5 separate regions of the Homo sapiens genome follow, and regions 1, 2, 3 and 4 are each linked to region 5. The links are contacts of gene promoters, found by promoter capture Hi-C in blood cells and fetal thymus (Javierre and others, 2016). All regions are on one chromosome and are shown on one strand. The core of a region is centred on a gene start or on the middle of the fragment in contact, and the rest is flanking DNA. Distances in the headings are between cores, read along the strand shown. Region 1 has its middle 15 kb from the start of CCNG1. Region 2 overlaps CCNG1 (cyclin G1). Region 3 overlaps LOC105377700 (a long non-coding RNA gene). Region 4 overlaps BOD1 (biorientation of chromosomes in cell division 1). Region 5 holds the start of RARS1 (arginyl-tRNA synthetase 1).

The links. The method cuts DNA at HindIII sites, captures the fragments that hold promoters and counts their contacts. A CHiCAGO score of 5 or more calls a contact.
Region 1: a contact is called between a fragment that was not itself captured here and the fragment with the promoter of RARS1 in region 5, in 2 of 17 cell types (naive CD8 T cells and activated CD4 T cells). The highest score is 7.0, in naive CD8 T cells.
Region 2: a fragment that was not itself captured here is called in contact with the fragment with the promoter of RARS1 in region 5 in 11 of 17 cell types (total B cells, non-activated CD4 T cells, naive B cells and 8 more); the score reaches 24.1 in total B cells.
Region 3: a fragment that was not itself captured here is called in contact with the fragment with the promoter of RARS1 in region 5 in 2 of 17 cell types (total B cells and naive B cells); the score reaches 8.0 in total B cells.
Region 4: a contact is called between a fragment that was not itself captured here and the fragment with the promoter of RARS1 in region 5, in 1 of 17 cell types (naive CD8 T cells). The highest score is 8.2, in naive CD8 T cells.

The regions. Positions count from the first base shown.
Region 1 is chr5:163,421,215-163,423,914 of GRCh38, forward strand. It overlaps a transcript of LOC105377700 not described here. Among named protein-coding and RNA genes, the nearest start is that of CCNG1, 15 kb to the right of the region's middle. The HindIII fragment of the contact is 1,939 bases long and covers 314-2,252 here.
Region 2 is chr5:163,439,810-163,442,509 of GRCh38, forward strand. It overlaps CCNG1 (cyclin G1), which reads left to right. Exons shown (of 7, transcript NM_004060.4): 3 at 1,269-1,522; 4 at 2,077-2,155; 5 at 2,236-2,334; 6 at 2,565-2,700. Among named protein-coding and RNA genes, the nearest start is that of CCNG1, 3.6 kb to the left of the region's middle. The HindIII fragment of the contact is 1,297 bases long and covers 682-1,978 here.
Region 3 is chr5:163,404,149-163,406,848 of GRCh38, forward strand. The region is part of intron 1 of LOC105377700 (a long non-coding RNA gene); the gene reads right to left. Among named protein-coding and RNA genes, the nearest start is that of CCNG1, 32 kb to the right of the region's middle. The HindIII fragment of the contact is 1,104 bases long and covers 893-1,996 here.
Region 4 is chr5:173,610,518-173,613,217 of GRCh38, forward strand. It overlaps BOD1 (biorientation of chromosomes in cell division 1), which reads right to left. Exons shown (of 4, transcript NM_138369.3): 2 at 2,614-2,700. Among named protein-coding and RNA genes, the nearest start is that of BOD1, 4.8 kb to the right of the region's middle. The HindIII fragment of the contact is 2,384 bases long and covers 207-2,590 here.
Region 5 is chr5:168,485,086-168,487,785 of GRCh38, forward strand. It overlaps RARS1 (arginyl-tRNA synthetase 1), which reads left to right and starts at 1,386. Exons shown (of 15, transcript NM_002887.4): 1 at 1,386-1,458. The coding sequence starts at 1,414. The HindIII fragment of the contact is 3,317 bases long and covers 1-2,661 here.

The DNA of each region.
Region 1 (2,700 bases), core at 33-2,532, 5.1 Mb before region 5:
TATCTCCCTGAGAGGTATGCTTTATTGTCTAAAATTCTGACTTTGACATTAATTCCTTTAGATCCCAATGTTGCCTAATTAAAATTTGTATACTACCATTGAGAAATGTGGCAGATTGTATTTTCCAAAAATAGCCACAGCAATATTTCTGCTTTCACACACTCTATCAGATCGTTACCACTCCCCATCAAGATTTGGAGCCTCTTTTCATTTTCCTTGAATTGAGGTAGGCTGTTTGGACTGCCTTGGCCAACAAGAAAACAACAGAACAGATGCTGCATGACTTTTGTGACTAGTTCATAAAAGACAATAAAGCTTCTGCCTGGCATGCTCTCTCCCTCTCTCTGTCTCTCTCTTTCTCTCTTTCTCTCTCTATCTCTGTGCTCATCCTTGGAACCCAGACGCCATGTAAGGAAGCCAAGTAGCCACATTGAAAGGCCACATGTAAGTATTCTGGCCATACCAAAGTTGAAGTTCCAGCTCACAGCCAGCATTGAAGCCACACATGTAGGCAAGTGAAGTCTTCAGAAGATTCTGGTACCCAGCCTCCAAGCCACTTGAGCTGCCTCTAGCCAAGTGTAGCAGAAATGAGCTGTCTACATGTCTTCCCAAGTTACAGAATTGATGGTAAAGCAAATGACATCATATCTTTAGTTCACTTCGTTTTGGGGCTTTTTTTTTTTCAATTTTTGGTGTTTTGTTTTGTTTTTATGTAGCCATTGATAACCAAAATAGGACTAACACATTATATTGGTACAAGTTAGTTTTTTAGATTAGCTATTTTGTAGCAGATATAAGAACCATGGGGATGATAGCATGGTACAGATAAGATTTAATGAAGAGATTTTTCTACTTATGGTGAGATTTTTCTACTTATGGTGAGTCGACCTGGCAGGGATGGGAAACGGGGGAGAGAAGAGAGATGGCAGGATGGCAAGAGGAGAATATAAGTAAGAATTTCCAAAAACAAATTCTTTGGATGGGGAGTATAGATTAGTATTCCATATTTTAGAGCAATAAGACTTTTTAAAAATAAACATGCAATGCCTAGTTATACTTACCATTATCAGTAATTTTCAAGACGAATTTTTCATTCCATGTTTTATGAAGTAGCCAAGACTCCAAACTATCTACAGCAGAGTTTTCCATACCACTTCCACATATAACAAGCATTTTAGAGGAAAACAACCTTCTACAACCCCTTTCCTCTACACCAGGAAAGCTCAAGTTATCCACAGACTTCAATGTATATGACTTATTGTTCTCAGGAAACTGTTATGACTTCTTTCTATGTAATACACACACACACACACACACACACCTCGGTATATAACTATATATATAAAAAGAATCCCATACACACATATTTTTAACCTCAGTGATGATAGAATACAATAGTGTTGCAAAATAATAAACAAATGGATATAGCAAATGATTTACCTTACTAATTGCTATTTAGTTTAATACTGTCATTATGGCATAATTTCCCTGGAGACAAATCAATTATAAAATGCAGGGGTTTCAAAATCCATCCAAAAAAAATCATAACAAGAAAAAAAAACTGCATGAAAAGTTACTATAGAGAAACTTAAAATGATCTAAAAAATACATGAAGCAAAAACTCATGGAATTGAAAGGTAAAATAGACAATTCCACAATAAAAGCTGGATACTTTATACTCTGCTTTTAATGATGAATAAAACAATTATGCAGAAGATTTAACAGGAAACCGAAGACTTGAACAACACCATAAGTGAATTAGACCTAACATACATCTAGAATACTCCACCCAACAACAGCAAAATACACATTCTTATTATTATTATTATTATTATTATTATTATTATTATTATTAATAGAGATGTGGTCTTGCTGTGCTGCTCAGCTGGTCTCGAACTCTTGTCCTCAAGTGATTCTCTGCCACAGCCTCTCAAAATGCTGGGATTATAAGTGTGACCCACTGTACCCAGCCAGTACACATTCTTCTAAGGCACAAATAGAACATTTTTCAGAATAAACCATAGACTAGGTCATAAGCCAGGTCTCAATAAATGTAAAGGAATTAAAATCATACAAAATATATTCTCCAACTACAAAGAAATAAAATTAGAAAATAACAATGAGAGAAAGTTTGAGACATCTACAAAATAATTGAAAATTAAACAAGAGACTCTCAAACAACCAATGGGACAGAGAAAAAATTTAAATTTGAAAATCCCATGTGATGAATGAAAATAAAAACAACATACCAAAGCTTATAGATGCAACTAAAGAAGTGCTCAGAGGGAAATTTATAGCTTTAAATGCTTTTTTTAAAAAAAATCTCCACTCAACAATGTCATCTTCCACTAAAATCAAAGCAAAACCAAGGATGGAAATAATAAGGTTAAAATGAAAATAAATAAAGTAGAGAAGAGAAAAACACTGAGCAGATTTTTAAAAACACAAAAATTGTTTGCAAAGATGAACTAAAATGACAAACCTTGGCTAGGAATGGTGGCTCACACCTGTAATCCCAGCACGTTGGGAAGCCAAGGCAGTAGGATCACCTGAGGTCAGGAGTTTGAAACCAGTCTGCCCAACATGGTGAAACCCCATCTCTACTAAAAAATACAAAAATTAGCTTGTCATGGTGGTGCGCACCTGTAATCCCAGCTACTCGGGAGGCTGAGGCACAAGAATCACTTGAACCCAGGAGGT
Region 2 (2,700 bases), core at 80-2,579, 5.0 Mb before region 5:
TCCATTTATTTACTATTTTTAGATATAAACAAATTTATTAGTGGCAGAAATTTATTAGAGGCTACATTGTGGCTAAGAATTAAGATATATTTGTTAATCACTACCCATATATAAAATTGTAAATGTTTTAGCCTTAGACCTAGTCAAGACTTGCTTATGCTTGGCATTTCCAGCTTCAGTGTACATGCAGTAGGGAGGAGAGTGTGTCTGAAGGAGGAGCAACTATTTTCCTATACTAGATAAACAAGACTGTCACTTTCAGAGCTTAACTGTTACAAATGCATCTGCCTTTCCTGTACACCCATGGTCACTGGAGGAAAATAAGATGATGTGACAATTGGAAGGAAACTCATATTTTAGTCCTCGGTATCTAACACAGTGCATCATAAAAAAGGACTTCAATATTTGTTGAAGATTCAAGAAATTTGCTTCAACAGACTAATTAAGCTCTTTAGACATTTCACATGTAGTCATTACCTTTGAATCTGTAAATGTTGCACAAATGAATAATATACAGCTATTCCTCAGGTATAATTCAGTCTTATGTGAGAATAAGATCGTTGCTCTTATGTACAAGTCATAATAAGAAAAATAACTACATTATGCCTTTAAAGAGGCATAAGTGTACTGCTGAAGAGTTTACAAGAAGAGAGAGAGCACAGAGATATTAATACTGGTAAAAGCTTAGTTTCATGTGAGCTGGAAGTAAACTGGATAAAGTTTTGACTGTGTCTCATACGGCAGACATTCAGAAAATTAAATGATAAAGATTAGTAGTGGATAGAACTCTTAGAGGCAGAGTAAACAGTATATGCCATAGTATTTTAAAACTGTTTTATATGTGTTCCCACAAAGACAAGAGCCTGGAAAAAATACAACATCCTGCAAAGAAATGGCTTATTTTGTAAATAAGCCATAAAGTATTTCAGTCCTCATATATCTTTGACTAGTTAACTTATTTGATCAAACTAGAACAATGTTTACTTATAGTTCTACAGTGATTAATAAAAACACACTTTTTCTATGCTGAGCCAAACATTATACTGAAACTCAGTCCAGTTACTCAAAAATTGGTTCTAAGTGGGGTCCATAGTGTTGACAGGCTATAGTTTAGGTATGAGTGGATTGTGTTAAGTCCATCACAGCTGAGAAATAAACCTCAAATATACATTTTCAAAATGTTGGGTCGGAGTTCTAGATTATCCTTTATGTTTTAATTGAAATAAGGTAGAGTCATGGGCTTACTGGTTTTGTTTTTGATTTTTTAGGTACAGCCCAAGCACCTTGGGTGTGTTGGACTGAGCTGCTTTTATTTGGCTGTAAAATCAATAGAAGAGGAAAGGAATGTCCCATTGGCAACTGACTTGATCCGAATAAGTCAATATAGGTTTACGGTTTCAGACTTGATGAGAATGGAAAAGATTGTATTGGAGAAGGTGTGTTGGAAAGTCAAAGCTACTACTGCCTTTCAATTTCTGCAACTGTATTATTCACTCCTTCAAGAGAACTTGCCACTTGAAAGGTAAGTGACCTTTGTTTTGAACAAGAGACATTTGGAAATCAGAATGGTATTGTATGGATATTGCATAAAATCAGTATCCTCATAGAATTCTAATAAAAATAAGTAAAATGACAGCTGTGGCTCCTTGAACTTTAATGTCCATCATAAGTGAGAAAATGTTCCATTGTCAATAGCTTCGTTAAAGCTAATTCTTGGGATTAAAGTACATTTTGACTTTATAGAACCTAGTAGGAAAGCATCTAACACAAATTTATGGAAAAAAAGGACCTTCAGTGGATGTTGAAATATTTATTAAAACTAAAAGAAAATAAATCTTGTATTTGTGGCATAGTACTATTCATTTTAATTTTTTGGCCCAAATCATCTAAAACTCCCATATGGTGCCTTTAGAAGTTAGTATCTCTGATGGAAGGGGAATTCCTTTCAATAGTTCATTTGCTATGTTAAGTGTGCATAAGCTTTACTTTAAAAATTGACTTCAATGTTTTTCTAAAAACATCTTTTGACTAGATGTAGTATTACCTAATAAAAGTAATACCATTTTCTTTTTAAAGGAGAAATAGCATTAATTTTGAAAGACTAGAAGCTCAACTGAAGGCATGTCATTGCAGGATCATATTTTCTAAAGCAAAGGTAAATATTTTATAAAGATTATGCCTATTGATATGATCTGTTTTTATATTTGGCATTTACTTTAAATTTATCTCTTTTAGCCTTCTGTGTTGGCATTGTCTATCATTGCATTAGAGATCCAAGCACAGAAGTGTGTAGAGTTAACAGAAGGAATAGAATGTCTTCAGAAACATTCCAAGGTATGTGAAGGACATAGCCTAAATCCTATTAACAGCTGTAAAAGAAACTAAACCCCTTCTATCTCCTGAAGTAAAATGAGATGTCATATGTTTATTTGAAACTTAAGTAGCTATCCTCAAATGTTTTTAATGAGCAAAGACACATGTTCATAGGATTGCATTTATTAATGTAGTTAAATAAGGTGGGACTTACTTGGAGTAATAATTTTTTAAAATTTATGTATGTACAGATAAATGGCAGAGATCTGACCTTCTGGCAAGAGCTTGTATCCAAATGTTTAACTGAATATTCATCAAATAAGTGTTCCAAACCAAATGTTCAGAAGTTGAAATGGATTGTTTCTGGGCGTACTGCACGGCAATTGA
Region 3 (2,700 bases), core at 195-2,694, 5.1 Mb before region 5:
GCTCAGGTATTCTCATTTCAGTGGCATCAGCTTAAAATATGTACTCTAAGAAAGCTAGAGCTTTTCATCTTCAAAGTAAATATTGATTGACCTGTTTTTTTTTTCTCTAACTTTTGAGAAAGACGTGGAAAGAGAATAAAAGGGTAAGCTCAGCTAAGAACATGATCAAGGAGAGGATCAAAAAATATAACTCCAATGTTCTGTGTTCTTTGGCTTTAAATTTTTCCAATGAAGTAATAATCTATTCTGATATCTATTTGAATAACTCCACTGGACTTGAGTGATTTGTCAGAGAAATCGATAGCCATAGAACTGCGAATATCCTTTTCCACTTGTGAAAATCTGCATTGTCTTTTTGAAGCTTCCTTCTGTGTGATCTTTATTAAACATAAGCAAGGGAAGCACAAAATTCACTAGAATTCAATGAAGCTTTTCATTTACTTTCTTATATGTTATCCCTCTCTCTCCCTCCCTCTCTCTCCCCCCTCCCTCCTTACACACACATGCGTGCGCACACACACACACACACACACAAAACGAAATGACCTTTACTTACTTCACCGTTGCGTGCACACCTCAGCTACTTATGGGCTTTTATGTCTCTAACGTTATTTATTTCTGTATGCTTTCATCAAAGATTTATTGAGTACTGCTATGTCCCAGGCACTATGAACAACATCAAGTACAGAAGATGAATGATCTATAACTGCCATTGAATTTTGAAGGATCTTTAGTTTAAAAGAGTCATTTTAGAAAAAAAAAGAGCTAACATTTTTCCAAGCATTTATATGCCAAGCCAAGTGATCTTCATTTATTCTCTGCCTTAGTCAGCACAAGAGCCTCAGGAGGTAGGTACAATTATTTTCTTTCATTTGTCAATTGAGATAACTAAAGCTTACATAAGCCAAGTAATTTACAGAGGATCACAGAGTTAGTGACAGAACTATTGCGGCCGTTACTATAATAGTAGAAGCTCACTTATATTAAGCACCTACTATGTACCATGAATTGTTGTAAGCACCTGATATAGTTTAGCTTACTACTCTTATTACCCACCATTTACTGATGAAACAGTAGTACAGAGATGTTAAATAAGTTCTCCAAAGTTACCAGTAGAACTGGGATACCAGTTGTCCTTTTTTTAATTTATTTATTTTTCTTTTTTCTTTTTTTTTTTTTTTGACGGAGTCTCCCTCTGTCGCCCAGGCTGGAGTGTAGTGCAGTGGCGCAATCTCGGCTCACTGCAATCTCTGCCTCCCGGGTTCAAAGGATTCTCCTGCCTCAGCCTCCTGAGTAGCTGGGATTACAGGCACATGCCACCATGCCCACCTAATTATTTTTGGATTTTTAGTAGAGACAGGGTTTCACTGTTAGCCAGGATGGTCTTGATCTCCTGACCTCATGATCCACCCGCGTCGGCCTCCCAAAGTGCTGGAATTACAGGCTTGAGCCACCACACCAGGCCCCAATTGTTCTTAATAACTCACAGACTCAAGTCTGGCTGTGCCAAAACTCATGCTTGTAATCACTATGAAACTGAAAGATAACGTATGGTCTCCATGATTAGGACAATATTCCAATCTGCCTGGTCAAGGGATACTAATGAAAGAGAAGATCTTGAAGAACATGGTTTATTCAACACATCAAACATAAGACTTTGTGATCTCAATCTACAAATTGTTTTCTGAAGTTACAAAATTCAGCAGAGACATGGGGGCCATGAAAGTCCAATTCCATGGCTCTAGTTTGCCACATTTTCCTTATCTACAACAAAGGAGTAAGTGACTAAGAGTCATCTATTATCTAATAATACTTTCCAGCTAAGAGTCATCTATTGTATAATAATACTTTCCAGCTTTGAGCAGGGTGTTCCACAAGTATCAGGAAAGCAGAAATCAGGTACATTCTAACTTAATGTTTTGTTTCAAAACCCGATCATAGTGACGGGTGCACAGTAGCCAGTCAATAAATTGTTATTAGATAAATGTTGGAAAAAAGCTTTCTGAACAAGCACTTTGTAGTATTTGCAGGGCTGGGCCTAGGGCGAAGCAAATGAGGCTCCTGTCTTGGCACAGAATTTAAGGGGCATCAAAAAATTCCCTTGGCTTCGGGCTCCAGTATGGTTCAGCACAACGTTATTACTGATCCTGTTCTTACGAAAATTGTAGATGTTTCACTTATCATAAATTATTTTGCACCAGTGTTGCCCCAGCCCTGATTACACACACTCTTCCTGATAACTTCCTGCCACTTACTACCTGTTTTATCACATGTAAGTTACTGAAAGTGTTCTGAGACTGAGTTTCCTTATCGGTAAAATGGGAATAAGAATTTTTAATTTATCATACTGTTGTAAGGAGCGAATCAGGTGGCATGTGTGCAATCTCTGACTCAGTGCACAGCATAAAATTGGAGCTCAATAAACATTACTTCCCTTGCCTGACAAGAGAAGTGTCTGTTAAATCGTTTCTTCACGTGGTTAATTATTTTGCTTAGTTTTTCTTCCCCAAGAAGATCAACCAATCCTTACAGGATCTCTCATTCAAACTGGTTATTTCTCCCAACAAGTTGCCTCTCGGGCAGATTGTCTGAGCTCAGGGGTTCGAGACCAGCCTGGGCAATGTGGCAAAACCCTGTCTCTACTAAAAATACAAAAAATTAGCCAGGCGTGGTGGCACACTCCTGTAATCCCAGCTACTC
Region 4 (2,700 bases), core at 149-2,648, 5.1 Mb after region 5:
CACTGAAGGGCACATTTTCAGGTAGACCAGGCATTAGACAGTATCGGCCCTTAGTGATGAGCATCGTTAAATACAGCAAAGTTAGCATCCGGCTATGGGATGCTAACAAAGGAAAGCCACCTCTCCTCAGTCACAAGCCAATACCTTTCCAACTTTACCAAACCACTTCCTGAGTCGGATTCACAGGGTCCTTTACCAGATGTAAAAGCTTGATATTATCAACTAAATGCCTGTGTCCCCCAGACTTCCTATGTTGAAATCTAATCCTTAATGTGATGGCCTTTGGAGGTAGGGCCTTTGGGAGGCGATCGGGTCATGGGGGCAGAGCCTCCGCGAATGCAATTTATGCCCTTACAAAAGGGACCCCAGGAAGTTAGCGAGCTCTCTTTCCACCACATGAGAAGAACAAGCAGTTGGCAGTCTGCTGCCTGCAAGAAGGCCTTCCCCTGAACCTGACCATGCTGGCATCTTGGTCTTGGACTTCTAGCCTCCAGAATGGTGAGAAGTAAATTTCCATTGTTTACAAGCCACCTAGTCTACGGCGCCTTGTTAAAGCATCCCCAACTGACCAAAACCCCTGATCAGGGGAAACAAACTACCAAGGGAGTGCAGCTCACTTTCCTGGAGATTCTTAAACTTTTGAGGAAAACATAAAATCTTGTCAGGAGCCCAATGTACAAGATGGAAAAAACAAATATTGTACAGTTACAAGAGTTATTCGTCATAATTCAGTGCAATAGCACAGGCTAATTTCCTGTTAAACCCTCTAGGCTGTGGCACTGGGTTACAGCATCTGGGCCAGAACAGCCAGGCCAGTGAGCCAATGCTCTGAAGGCCTGCAGTGTCCACCTGGGGAGAGCACCTGGGGGCAAGCAGAAAGTCTGCGTTTCGAAACTCCAGTAGATTTTGCCTCAAATTCAAAATGCTAGCAAGAATTGTGGAGAAATGTCCCAGTATTAAAGCCAAGTTCATGTTTTCAGGTTAAACACATTCTAAGTCAAATCAAAAAGCAGGGAAAAAAAAAAAAACAACAACTTCACAGAGGTGGTAAAAACTATGCAGAGAGGAAATGATTAGTATAAAAGTCAGGAATATGGAAAACTTCCGAAAGGAGGAAAGTACATCCGGAGCTAGGCTGTTTCGGGGGTGTGAGTCCATTTCTCGATCTGGGTGATCAAGGGATGTTCTAATTATCTGTTTCACTGAACTTCTGTGCACTTTTCCGTATTACAATTCCTACTAAAGAAATGCAAGAGGAAGCGCCACATGCATACCTCTAGAATGACATCCATGCTCATTACAGAAATCAAAGCAATGTTAACAGCCTTCATACAATCATGGCAACTTTCCAAATATTTCAGAATGTTCAGTGTTTTGATTTACTCAAGACAGGGTAAACACAAGTGACTTTAGCTGTGAAACAGGCTTTTCATGAGGATGAGTGATATATGTAAAGACCAGTGCCAGACATGTAATAAAGAGTTGCTCAGTAAGGGGCAGCTACTGTCCCCTTCTTTCTGAAAGAGCCCGGTGCCACCAGTCTGTTCTCTGGAGAAAGGGAAAGGCACTCGGTACTGACTCCAGAATGACAAGGCACTGGGCATCTTCTGCTATCAGGCTTCTTCCCAGCATTCAGCCATATTGGAAGTACTAGCTTGTTAGTAAAACACTTTTAAAAACTTTAGAAATCTTAAAATCGCTGCATATTCACAGGAAGTTGTGAAGAAGAGTCCAGGGAGTTCCACACGCACCCTTCACCCAGCCAGCTCTAATGTCAGCACCTTGCGTAACTAGTGCAATATCAAAACCAGGAAAATGACACTGGTCCAATCCAGACCTTATTTAGACTTCAGTTACACTTGCACTTATTTGTGTGTGTAGCTCCGTGCGACTTTACCATACGAGCTGTTGCACGTGAGCACAGCACAATTCAGTGACACTTAACTGCACCATTGCAAGCTCCCCCTTGTGCTACCACTTGCAAGTCACACTCACCCCCTCCTCCCATCCGTAACCCCAGGCAATCACTAATGTGTTCTCCCATTTCTGTACCCTCCTCCACCTCCACTTTTGTGCGTCACTCAGATAAGCTATCAATAGCACCTTTATTAACTAAGGTTCAGTTTGTTACTGTGAAGTACGATACTTTATTAAGACTATGCCTTCCTGAAAGCTGTCACCATTACACTTTAGAGGTGGCAGTCCTGGTGGACTCAAAGAATTTATTTAGTTCACATTCACCTGTGAGAATAAAGATCCAACTCCTCTTGCCCAAGATCCAAACCCTGATATCTTGGTATAAAACTCACATATATGTTTGGACAACACTGAAACTTCAAAGAGCAGGGAAAATGTCTCACGATTTGGAATGCCTTTTGATGCACCCAGTAGAGATGCACACAGGAGGCCTTCACAGGCTGCAGAAACTGGAATTTCAACTGAGTACTTTGCTTCCTTTAACCTTAATTATAACAAAAGAGCAGACTGCTGCAACTCCTAAGTGATACTTGATATAAAGTCCCATCAACCTTGACTAAACAGAGACCTCAACCTTCTTGTGCATCACACTTGTGATGACTGCCTTTTCAAAAGCTTTAAATTCTGCTTACTTACTGAACCACACTCTGCCTCAGACCATTTCGCAACTGGTTTTTGTTCATCGTAGGATTCCATTCCTGCTTGTCCAGATGTGTTGACACA
Region 5 (2,700 bases), core at 136-2,635:
AAGGTCCCTGCCCTCTTAGAACATATATCCCAGGTTTGCTGTTTATAATTTTAACTCAATATATATACAATGAAATATTATTCAGCCTTATAAAAGAAAACCCTGTTATGGGTGACAACATAGATGAACCTGGAGAACATTATGTTGGTGCAATAAGCCGGGCACAGAAAGACAAATACTACATTAGCCCATGTATATGTGTAATCTAAAAAATTCAGATTCATAGAAGCAGAGCATAGAATGGTGGTTGTCAGGGCTTCAGAGGTAGGAAAGATGGGAGATGTTGCTCAAAGTTACAAAGTTTCAGTTAGGCGGGATGAATAGATTCTAGAGATGTAATGTATATTGTATACTTGCAGTTTTCGTTTTCGTTTCGTTTTGTTTGTTTTTAAATAGAGAGAGAAAAGGTCTCACTCTGTCATCCAGGCAGAGTACAGTGGCATGATCATGGCTCACCGCAGCCTCAAATTCTTGGGCTCAAGTGATCCTCCCACCTCAGCCTCCTATATACCAGGGACTACAGGCACATGCCACCATGCCCGGCTATTTTTCCATTTTTTTGTAGAGACGAGGTCTTAGCTGTTTCCCAGGATGAGAATAGATCTTAAATGTTCACAGCACACACGCGCGCGCGCGCGCGCGCACACACACACACACACACACATGCAAATGATAACTGTATGAGATGAAGGTTATGTTAATTATTTTGGTTGTGGTAATCATTTCAGAATGTATACATATATCAAAACATTACGTTGTACATCGTTATGATATACAATCTTTGTCAATTATACCTCAATAAAACTGGAAAAATAAATAAGATTTTAACTCAAATGTCACTTGCTTAGAGATGTCTTCTCTCACCCAAGTCACTCTATCACATTGCCTTCCTAGCAATTAAAACTACCTGAGATTATTGCCTTTTTTGGTCTATTTTCTCTCTCCATTCTAAAATGTGTCTGCCGTGAGAGGGGAGATCGTGTCTGTTTTGTTTTCTTTGTGCCCCCAGAGCCTAGAATACTGTCTGGCATTTTAAAGTACACAATAAATGTTTGTTGAATAAATGAATGGATTTGTTAGTTTTGTGCCCATTTCACAAAGGGGCAAAGTGAGGCCTTTGAGAGCCAGAAGCTCTAGGTCAGTGACTGTCCTAGTCTATCCAAGCACAGAGCAGCTCTGGTTAGTGTCTGCTCAATTCCTCTCCCCTCGCCCAAACGTCCCTGAGTTGCGGCCTCGCTCCTGACCGAAATCCCCGCGGGTTCTCCTCGCAGTGTCTACTGGATCCCGCCAGGAGGCAGCAGAGGCGCCAGCACCCAGTCCGACGGGACAGCGGACCGGAGGGGGTTTCCGCTTCCGGGAGAGGCTGACCGTTTCCGCTTCCGTCCACTTGGCGAGTGAGACGCTGATGGGAGGATGGACGTACTGGTGTCTGAGTGCTCCGCGCGGCTGCTGCAGCAGGTTTGGACGCAGGAGACCGGCGGGAAGGCCTGAAAGAGATGGAGCAGGCTCTGACTCCTGCCCAAGCGGCTTCGGGGGCGGGACAGCTAGGCGAGGACCATCCTGGTCCTCTCAGAGTGGAGCGGCACGGTCCCTGTGGGAACAGGAAGGGTTGAGAGAGGAAGCACCCATCATTTCAAAGCCCGTGTGACTGTGATTTTCAGCGGAATGGAGGGTCCCCACCCTCTCCCAGGCCTCCCCCAAACCAGCGTCTTCGGTGGGCTGGAGCCTGGCATGTTCAGAACAGTTCTCTCCCTACAATCCACCTCCTCTTCTGCATACACACGCGATTTAGGGGATGCGGGGAGATAGACAAGGGGGGAATACATTCAGAGCTCTGGGTCTTGGTTTGCAGCTCAGCCGCAGTTCTTCCCGGGTTACTGAGCGAGAGGATTCCTAATAAGCCCATGGGGTGATTCATTATCAGACCAGCGGAGCTTGCTCTGTGCCCTCAGCATTCGTCGGGAAGGAGCAGCCACACCATATAAAAGTGAAAGCGGCCGGGCGCGGTGGCTCATGCCTGTAATCCCAGCACTTTGGGAGGCCGAGGTGGGCGGATCACGATGTCAGGAGATCGAGACCATCCTGGCTAACACAGTGAAACTCCGTCTCTACTGAAAATACAAAAAAACTTAACCGGCTGTGTTGGGGGGGGTCCCTGTATTCCTAGCTACTCGGGAGGCTGAGGCAGGAGAATGGCGTGAACCCGGGAGGCGGAGCTTGCAGTGAGCAGAGAGCACACCACTGCACCACAGCCTGGGCGACAGAGTGAGACTCCGTCCCCCTACAAAAAAAAAAAGTGAAAGCGGAACAGTTCCATTACCTTTTATGCCCAGGTGGGGAGGGATGGTAGGAAGATAGTTCACAGTACTCTGTCCTGTTACGGCTGTATACTTAATCAGCAGTCACAAAGTACAAGTTAGTCAAGTAAATTGGCAAGCTCTTTACATTTCTGAGCCATTTATTTATCGGTATGTATTTATCTTTGCCTCACTTGGTTGTGATAATCATGAAGGTAATTTCTGAAAAGTGTTTTTAGCTCAGCTCCTGGAACATAATGTATGCTCATTTTTGGCAATTTGGTTTTGGCTGTAGCTATCTCCCAGTAAGTATTCTGAAATTTCAGGTGAGGAACTCCCCCTGAGTTTTGCAGTTTAAGTTGGAAGCTTTATTTCTTTCTGAATTGACATGTCTTTAGTTTTA